2 separate regions of the Homo sapiens genome follow, and region 2 is linked to region 1. Evidence: promoter capture Hi-C in 16 types of primary human blood cells and fetal thymus (Javierre and others, 2016). All regions are on one chromosome and are shown on one strand. Each heading gives the region's core, a stretch centred on a gene start or on the middle of the fragment in contact. The rest is flanking DNA. Distances are from core to core; before and after follow the strand shown. Region 1 holds the start of SPAG8 (sperm associated antigen 8). Region 2 overlaps FANCG (FA complementation group G).

Region 1 (5,854 bases), core at 1,939-4,438:
GTGCTATACAGTATCACCAATTATTTGATTGCCTTTTCTTTGATTCCTCATTCCACCATCCTCCCCATTCCACCCACCCCAGCGCTGAAGATCCATGTCTCCTCTACCACCAAGGATGCCCTAGATGAGCTAGGATGCTTCCAGCTAGAGCTTCGGGGGGATGTGGAAATGAAGGTGATGGCAGGCCATGGGGAGGGGGGCATGGAAAGGGAGGGTGAAAGTGATTATGGGAATCATAGGGAAAGAGAGGGAGACAAAGGGACTAACATCGAAGCATCTGAATCATGTCCACTCTCCCACTTCCAGGGAAAAGGAAAGATGCGAACATACTGGCTCTTAGGAGAGCGGAAAGGACCTCCTGGACTCCTGTAAACCCCCATTCTTTCCAAGTCAGATAGTCTTCTGCTGCTGGTACCTGGGTGGGCAATGGCCACCATGTCTGCACACACCAGAAATGGACATTTTCATATGCAATGGAAAACAGCCACAAAAAAACCTACCTTATATGGAAGTTGTAGCCCTCTGCAGCTCAGCCCTGTACATATACCTGTCCCTCTCTGGCTTGGTCCCCTTCCTCCCTACTTTCTGTAAATATCTGTATCTAAACCAGAATATTTTGGTCAAATATAAAACAATAATAAAAAAAGTTCTGATGTCATAGTGTGGGATAGGGGCAATCCCAAGGAAAGGTTATGGGGTATGCACACAGTGACTCACAGAATCACTAAATTAGCAGTCTTGGGATGAGAGAGAACCCTTTATGTAAAGCCTCTTCAAGTACAGTGAGAATTAACTTCCTCCCGACCTCTCTAGTGCAGACAGAAATAGATTCCATATTCCATACCCCACTTCCCTCCTCACCCCTCAGAAAGGAGTCATTCTCCCCCCTCCACCACCCAGCCTTCCTCCGGGACAGGGAAGGGAAGATATTTCTCCCAATTGGTAGGGGTAATTCTCAGGTTCATAGGGCAAAAGTTTCCCCAGAGACAAGGGTACTGGTGTTGAGAAGCTGCAGTTCTTCCGGAATGGTGTGTCCAATGTCCTGATGTTACTGACACCCTGGAGGAGTGCCAGGATGAGGATGGATCCCACTCTCCCCAAGCCAGAACAAAACAACTCTGCCCTACCTTTCCTGCCCCGCTCTGCCCCCAACACCTAGTCACCCTCACACACCGGCAGCTGTGGTGCCCTCTGTATCCAGAAGGTCTCAGGTTGCTCCTGGCGGTAGTCGTGAGGCTGTGAGGGAGGGTACTGAGTAACTCCTGGCCTTCAGCCCTCTCTCTCAACCTCTGGGCTTGGTACTTGGCCACAGCCTGTCAGAGCCCAGCTGGTGCAAGTGGCGGGGGATGGGGGGTGGGTTCTCACCTTTGTTGGGGCAGGAGTCCCTGCTTGTGCCAGCTCCATTCGGTAGTCATGGTGTGTCACAGACTCAACCTCGAAGAGCTTCCTTGTGGGTTCCTGTTCTGCCTGCACCTCTTTACTATGTAGCCCGAGGGGTGTCAAGGCCATTCTCACCCAATTTTTCTCCTCCCCATCCCTCTTCCCCTTTACCCAATCCCTTACCAGATCTGATGCTGCAGGAGCATCTCCAGCATGGCTTCACGCTTCCCTGTGAGAGAGTTGGGGGGTGGGCAAGGTGGGGTCTGGTTAAGAAGGAGGCCCAGAAGAAACTAACTTGAGAAAAGGAAGAAGAACCTTGGGGTTCCGCCCTTATATCCACTGGAGAATCCACAGCCCCACCAGAAATTCCTTCCTCTTCTTCCCTCTGAGTAATGGGCTCGTTCTGGCCTACCCTCTCACATTTCACACCTCGAAGTGGCCAATAGACGTTTCCTGGTGGCTGGTACGAGTCTTTCTGGGTGGTGCTGGAGGGCATGGGTGACTTTAGTTGCATAGTCAGCAGTCCCCGGTGTCCGTGTCGGAAGAAAAAACTCTCAGAGCCATCCTGCATGCTTGGGACTTGATCCAGGTGGTTGGTGGCTCTCTGTGGATCCCAAGTTGAATGACTATAATATCCCTTCTGGTACCCACCCTCATGTAAACTACTGCCTCCCCTAAGAAACTGAGGGCAGCCTTCAAGAAAAGGGAGCAGGCCAAAACTTTAATACCTCTTCCTCCCAGTTGTAGAGGAGGCACTGGCCCCGCGGCAAAGTTTCATAGCAAACCATAAGCTTCCCTTTAATGTCTGGGGGTTTCCATAGTCCTCGGGCACCCGGTTCTAAGACTTGCAAAAATTCCCAAGGTGGTTGTTTCTGGGGCTCCCAGGGGCAGTGCTGACTCCAGGAGGTATAGTTAGGGACCCGATCTGCCACCAGGTTTCTGAACCCTGGAGGAATACAGGGGCTGAGCTCAGAGTCAGGGCCAGTGTCTGGACCAGGCCCAGAGGCAGGACCAGGATGAGAGCCAGAGCCATGACCAGGACCAGAGCCAGGACCAGAGCCAGGACCAGGACCAGAGCCAGAGCCAGGGACAGAGCCACAGCCAGGACCAGAGCCAGAGCCAGAGCCATGGCCAGCACCTGAGCTGGAACCAAGAACAGGCCCAGAGCTAGAGCCTGGAACAGGGCCAGGATTAGAACTATGGTCAGTTGTAGTGCAAGTGTCCTGAGCAATACAGGAAACATAGACGGGCTCAAAGCCAAGACTCCCATGGGCTATATTGTGGGTAAAGCCGGGTCCCGCACAGGGCTCCCCAAGAAGGCTGGGGTCAGAGGACGGCTCCATGAACTCAGAACAGGGCGCTGGGGTCTTTGTAGATAATGCAGCTGCTTTGGCAGTGGTGAAGGCTGCAGTAGCTGCAGCAGCTGATGCAGCCGCTGCAGCTGCTGCGGTTGCAGCTGCCAGGGCCGACCTGGGACTGTCATCTGAAGAAGGAAACGGTTCCGAAGTGGGCCCCAGTCCTTCGGAGCTGGGCTGTATGTCTAAAGATCTGAAAGAAAGCAAACACGACATGGCTGTCAAAAGCGCAGCAGAGGAAGTCAGCTGACCTTCCTCGTCCCCTTATGCCTGCAGCCAGAGCTGCGGCTCTCACCGCGACCGCGACCGCGATCCCTCCGTAGACTCGTTGGTCTCCATCTTCAGACTCCAGCTACTGGGTTGCCATAGAGACAGCAAACAACTCCTGGAGCCTGCGCAGAAGTACAGCTGGGCGGACTTGCAGGTGGCGGTGGAGGCAAGTCCTCTGCGGGGCGGAAGTCTTCAGCCTAGTGCTGTTAGGGAGGTCCGCTTTCCGGTCCCGGCGGCATTCCGCCTCAGACGGGGTTTTAGGGTTCCGCTGGCTTAAGACCTCGCCCTCCACGTCCAAACAGTCTTTGCGTGCGGTTTTCTAAGATGATGCTTTATGGGGATATGTTGGAAACAGGCACAGGGTTGTGGCATTAGATTACAGCCTACTTGGTGTTTGCTGAGAGGCAAGTAGCTTCCCCTTAGTTTGCTTAGTTCATTCTCAAAAGTGAGTGGGGTCTTTAACAAATGTTAAGGATGAAAATAAACAAACTAGCTTGAGCAAAATGGTGAGACGTAGAATAGTGAAAAGGCAGCCGCTTTTGTTTGGGTGTGATTACTCCTCCTCTAATAAAAGACCCTCATATTGACCACCCTCCTCCTAAGCGCCCTTAGAACCTGGTTTGACCTCTGAAGAAGGGCCAGGATTGGCTTTCAGTTTCTTCCTACTCATTTAGGCTCATTCCTACTGTTACTTTTCTAGAAGCTTGACCTAGGGTGGACCACTTGTCAAGAAGACTTACATATCTGCAGGCAACATTTAACCACAGGTTGGACCTCCTCAGTGTCTTTCACTCAGACCAGTCAAGGGGCATCATAGCCCTGAATCAGTTTTCTTTCCCCTTTGTGGTATAAAATTTTATATTAAAGACAGGAGAGCATAATTAAGGGAGAACAGTTTTATTAGCATCACAGGGTCCATTTTTCCCTTTCCATCCAAGCATCCAGAGTCTGGTGTCCTTTAATCAGTTGGCAGGTTCAACCTGGAGGCCACTGGAGCTGCCGGCCCCCAAGTACATGAATGTGCAGATGATACACAGATTGTGCACCCAGCTTCCCATCGTTGATCACTGAAATTGAGCTTGGGGTTAGGGAGTCAGGATCATGGCAGAGGTCGAAGAATGAAGATCATATTGAGAAGTAGGAATGAGAATTCATAGGTGAGGGACCAAGGGCCAAAAGTCACTCACCAAGTCGGTATCCATCTCCCAGGCCCTCAGCCTTTGCTGTCTGCTTGGCCACAAGGAGTAGGTGTCCTAGAAGCTATAGAGAGAGCGGAGGGACATAGGTGGCTTCATTCATAGGGAGCAAGACCTCTAGCTGGGTCCAGGGGCTCCTCCCAGCCAAACCCTGGCCCTGTTCTTCCCACCTGCTGGTCTTCTTCTTCAGCCTGGCTAATCCGAGGAATGGGCTTCTTAGGAATGACCAGGAAGTGCACAGGAGCCTGAGGGGCCACATCACGGAACACAAGACACTGGGGGAAGTGACAGGCCAGAGGCCACGTTACTTCAACAGGTTGGATGGTATCTACAACATTCCTAAGGGGATAGGTCCTAAGAGCACCCCACCTGCTGGTCCTCATAGAGAATGTCAGCTGGGAGGCTCTTGTCCAGGATCCGGGAGAAGATGGTTGGGGCTGCTCCCCCAGGAGTTGCCTGCTGGGCCTTGGCCACTTCATTCCCATCAGTCACACCTGCAGCTCCTCGGACCTGAAGGTGGATCGACCATATTCAAAGGAGGGAGCTGGCAGAAGCTGGGCTCTGATAGTTGTTAATTTCGTCCTTCTAATAACCTATTCATCGTTCCCACCCAGGAGGAAAGTTCCTGAATTTCAGAGCACCAGCAGCAAAGGGTAGGGCCAGAAGGTGCTGGACCTGGTTAGATAACAGGCGGTATTATTATCAGGATTCAGCAGTGCAATTGATTCCTGCTCATGTGTCCACGAAATATAGCACTGTTTAGGGAAAGGATCTAGAATGAGAGACTGGGGATTTTGGTCTCAGTTCCTACCTTACCATACCACTGAATTACCTCAGATAAATTCCTTCTCTCAGCTTCTAATATAAAATAAAGGGATGGTTTCCATAATCTCTTGCGATGGCTTGAATCTCTTTCCACTCTCACCTTGTTAGTACATTTCCACTTATTTCCGTTACTTGTTTTCTGATCTTTAAGCCTTGTCGCCTGTTTTATTTAAGTTTTAATGCAATCGCCCTGTTTGACACTAGTTGACCCCTCATCTGGGTGTCACATGTGACTCTGTGAATTTTAACTCTTGTCCCTTGAATGAGTGGAGGTAAGAGTTCAGCTAAGTGACCTCTGCTCCCCTAGCCCCAGGGAACTTCGGGTAAGGGATTCAGAGAAGGCTGATGTCATTGCATCACGTTGGGGGAGAACGGGACGGAATGAATTCTCTGACCTCCGAGCCGCTTCTGGCAAGTGCAGAAGAGAGGTTAACACTAGTGCTCATTAGGAGGCCAGAAGCCTGAGGAGGGCAGAGCACTGGCTCCAAGAAGAGAAAGCTCATTTCCTGCAGGGGGCATCGGGCCAGCTGGGCTGCAGGCAGTGGAAAGAAGGCGGCAGCCGCTGCACTGACCCTGTCCCGACCTCGGCGCCCCGGCCTGCGCAGGGCGGGAATCAGCACCAGCTCGTTCTCCGGAGCCACCAGTTCGACCTCACCACACAGCCCCGGAGCTTGTGCCTCGGAGGGGCAGAGGCCACAGGCAGGAGCTCTGCGCGGCTCTGCGCGCCTTCGGGACCCCCTGGCCCCGGATGGCTTCGGAGCCCGCAGGACCCCCTACTCGCTCCCGCGCCACTTCTCACCTGCCCCCCGCGCACCCCCGTGGCCGCCA
Region 2 (2,500 bases), core at 1-2,500, 730 kb before region 1:
CTCACCCTAGGCCCTAGCAGGGAACCTGCAAGGGTCCTGAGAATGTTCTCTCTTAGCTAACAGATGGATGTTCATGGGCCCTGAGGAGGAGAAAGGGAGGGAAGGTCTTAGGGCTCCAATTTTGGCTCAGTATGGATCTACCCCAGTTACAGAATGGACTGGGGAAGAGACTTCAGAGTGTCAAAGATAGAGAAGGTTAATGTCTTAGAGAAGAGTCCTCAGTTCAGGTCTAGAAGCAAGGTAAGAGGCTGAGGAGTGGCGACCTATGTCCTGCCACTGCCTCATTCATCCCCCAAGTCACAAGAACAAAAGCAGAGTCACACCCCAGGGGAGGCATCAGAAGTGGGAAGAGAAGCTCAGGTGAGCAAGGGGAACCTCACCTCCCCGTCTGTAGGCACCTGCTTGCTAGTATGTGCTTGGTCTGGCTCTGAGTGCCACAATGAAGGGGTGAGGCTAGGTCAGGTGGTGGCAGTAGTAATTCTACCTCAATGAGAAACTGCGGGGCTTTGGAACTGCATGGGACATTCAAGGCCTAAAAGAGAAAGAAAAAAATTGTATCTATAATCTTTGGGAGCCATACTTCCTTATACTTGGATCTTGACTAGTCAAGTCACCCCATCACAAGCACCTCAGGAATCCTCCACCCCACATCTTCACCTGGCAGTTCCCTACCTCAACTAGCAGCTCCAGACTCTCCAGCTCTGCTGTTGTGTCCCCCAGTTGCTGATAGAGCCTAGAGGCCTCCAGAAGTGGAGGACCCCAGGCTGATCCCTCTTTCAGGGCTGCAACCAAGTACAACAGTGCTCTCTGTGGATTTCCCTAAAGGGATAGGAGGACACGGGCCTCAGCTACCCTTACAAAGCAAAAAGCTATACATAATGCTTGTGGTTTCCCCAATCCACCCTAGGACTGTCTTTACCATCTTACGGTGACAGGACCCCAGTGCTGTGTACACCTGGACCAACACAGGCCGTGGACACAGGCCTGAGGCCGCTTCATGAAGGCTGCTTAGTGCCTTGTCTGGGTTCCCTGTGATCAGCTCCTGGAGACCTGAGGACAGTCAGGGTGTGAGCTTGGAGAGGGCTATAGAGCAGGGGTCATGATGGGGAACAAGGGTCTAAGAAGCCCATGGAACTGAATGGGACAAGAGAGAGGGCATGAGTCTGGAGGACCACTTAAAGGTAGAAGAGATGAGTCAGGTTGCTAGCTGACCTTGGCGGTAGGCAAATGCTGTCAGGAGGACATCCTTCAATCCCTGGGCATCCTGCAGGGTCAATGGAGCATCTAATTCCTCAGCTGGGGGACTCCAAGTTTTCAGAAGTAACAGCAGATCCTTAGAGGCTCCACTCTGGGGAAAGAAGGACAACCAGAAGCTCCAAGCCTACAACCTCCTCGTCTTCTCCTATCTCCATCTATCCTGGCTAGACCTTGAGCTCAAGGGTCCTCTTGATCCTTGAGGACACAGGCCTCAGCTACCCTTACAAAGCAAGAAGCTATGCATAATGCCTGTAGTTTCCCCCAATTCTAAGAGATAGATAGCTATGAGGCAAGAATTAAAAAAAAGGAAGAAAAACCTGGGGCAGTGATGATCTATTCCAGCGTGCCTCCTCACTCAGGGCAAGGACCATATTTGAGTTACTAATAAGGAGACTAAGGCTGAGAGCTGACTTGAGCAAGATCACAAGAGCCCTATCCCTATCCAAAAAAAAATTTTTTTTTTTTTTGAGACAGGGTCTCCCTCTGTCACCCAGGCTGCAGGGCTGGAGTGCAGTGGCGTGATCATAGCTCACAACTCACTGTTGCCTCCACCTCTTGGGTTCAAGTGATCCTCCTACCTCAGCCTCCCAAAGTGCTGAGATTACAGGTATGAGCCACCATGCCTGTCCAATTTTTAAAAAACACTCCTAAGAGAATCCCCACAATGAGAGACCAACCAGGGCAAGGTCACCCAAGAGTCCCAGAGAGAATCCAGGTTTTCCGACCACCAACCCAGCCGCCTGTCCAGTACATGATGATGCTACTGCAGCTGGAGAGAAAGGAGGAGGAAGGAAGGAGGAGACCCTCAGCTTCAGGTCACTTTCCCTATTACCTGGCTGCCATTCAGGGTCTCTAGTAACAAGGCCAGGTCCCCAAGACGGTCAGCACTCAACCAGAGGGCAGCCTGCAGGCCAACCAGGCGGTGCAGGGCAGACAGCAGCTCCGGCAGAAGGCAGGAAGCACGAAGGACAGAGTCCCACAGCTCCCTGAGCCCCTGTTCCAACCTGGGCCCCTGCTGCTCCTGTGTCTCCAGCACTGTAGAGTATACACACACACATAGACACACACACAGCTGAAGTAGCACCTCATCCTCCATCTCCCCACACACTCTGGCTTTCCTCTCCTGCAGGACCCCAAAGGTCACAATAATAATACCTCAACCTGGTCTGAAGAGCACAGAGAAGGGCACCTCTCTCCATGGAGGTGACAGATGTTGTTTATCCTCCCATCTCCCTGCAATAAC

What was found. The method cuts DNA at HindIII sites, captures the fragments that hold promoters and counts their contacts. A CHiCAGO score of 5 or more calls a contact.
Region 2: a contact is called between a fragment that was not itself captured here and the fragment with the promoter of SPAG8 in region 1, in 1 of 17 cell types (non-activated CD4 T cells). The highest score is 6.2, in non-activated CD4 T cells.

Annotation. Positions count from the first base shown.
Region 1 is chr9:35,809,074-35,814,927 of GRCh38, forward strand. SPAG8 (sperm associated antigen 8) reads right to left here and starts at 3,189. Exons shown (of 7, transcript NM_001039592.2): 1 at 3,031-3,189; 2 at 2,109-2,928; 3 at 1,810-1,984; 4 at 1,564-1,609; 5 at 1,366-1,480; 6 at 1,174-1,236; 7 at 722-1,059. The coding sequence starts at 3,074. The coding sequence ends at 865. HINT2 (histidine triad nucleotide binding protein 2) reads right to left here. Exons shown (of 5, transcript NM_032593.3): 1 at 5,826-5,854; 2 at 4,571-4,711; 3 at 4,372-4,476; 4 at 4,193-4,265; 5 at 3,887-4,072. The coding sequence ends at 3,981. It overlaps NPR2 (natriuretic peptide receptor 2), which reads left to right. Exons shown (of 22, transcript NM_003995.4): 21 at 83-174; 22 at 307-658. The coding sequence ends at 372. RefSeq lists enhancers at 2,707-3,263, 2,958-3,007 and a silencer at 5,782-5,854. The HindIII fragment of the contact is 1,537 bases long and covers 2,170-3,706 here.
Region 2 is chr9:35,076,052-35,078,551 of GRCh38, forward strand. It overlaps FANCG (FA complementation group G), which reads right to left. Exons shown (of 14, transcript NM_004629.2): 4 at 2,090-2,292; 5 at 1,213-1,348; 6 at 920-1,050; 7 at 673-819; 8 at 381-532. Among named protein-coding and RNA genes, the nearest start is that of FANCG, 2.6 kb to the right of the region's middle. The HindIII fragment of the contact is 2,719 bases long and covers 1-2,500 here.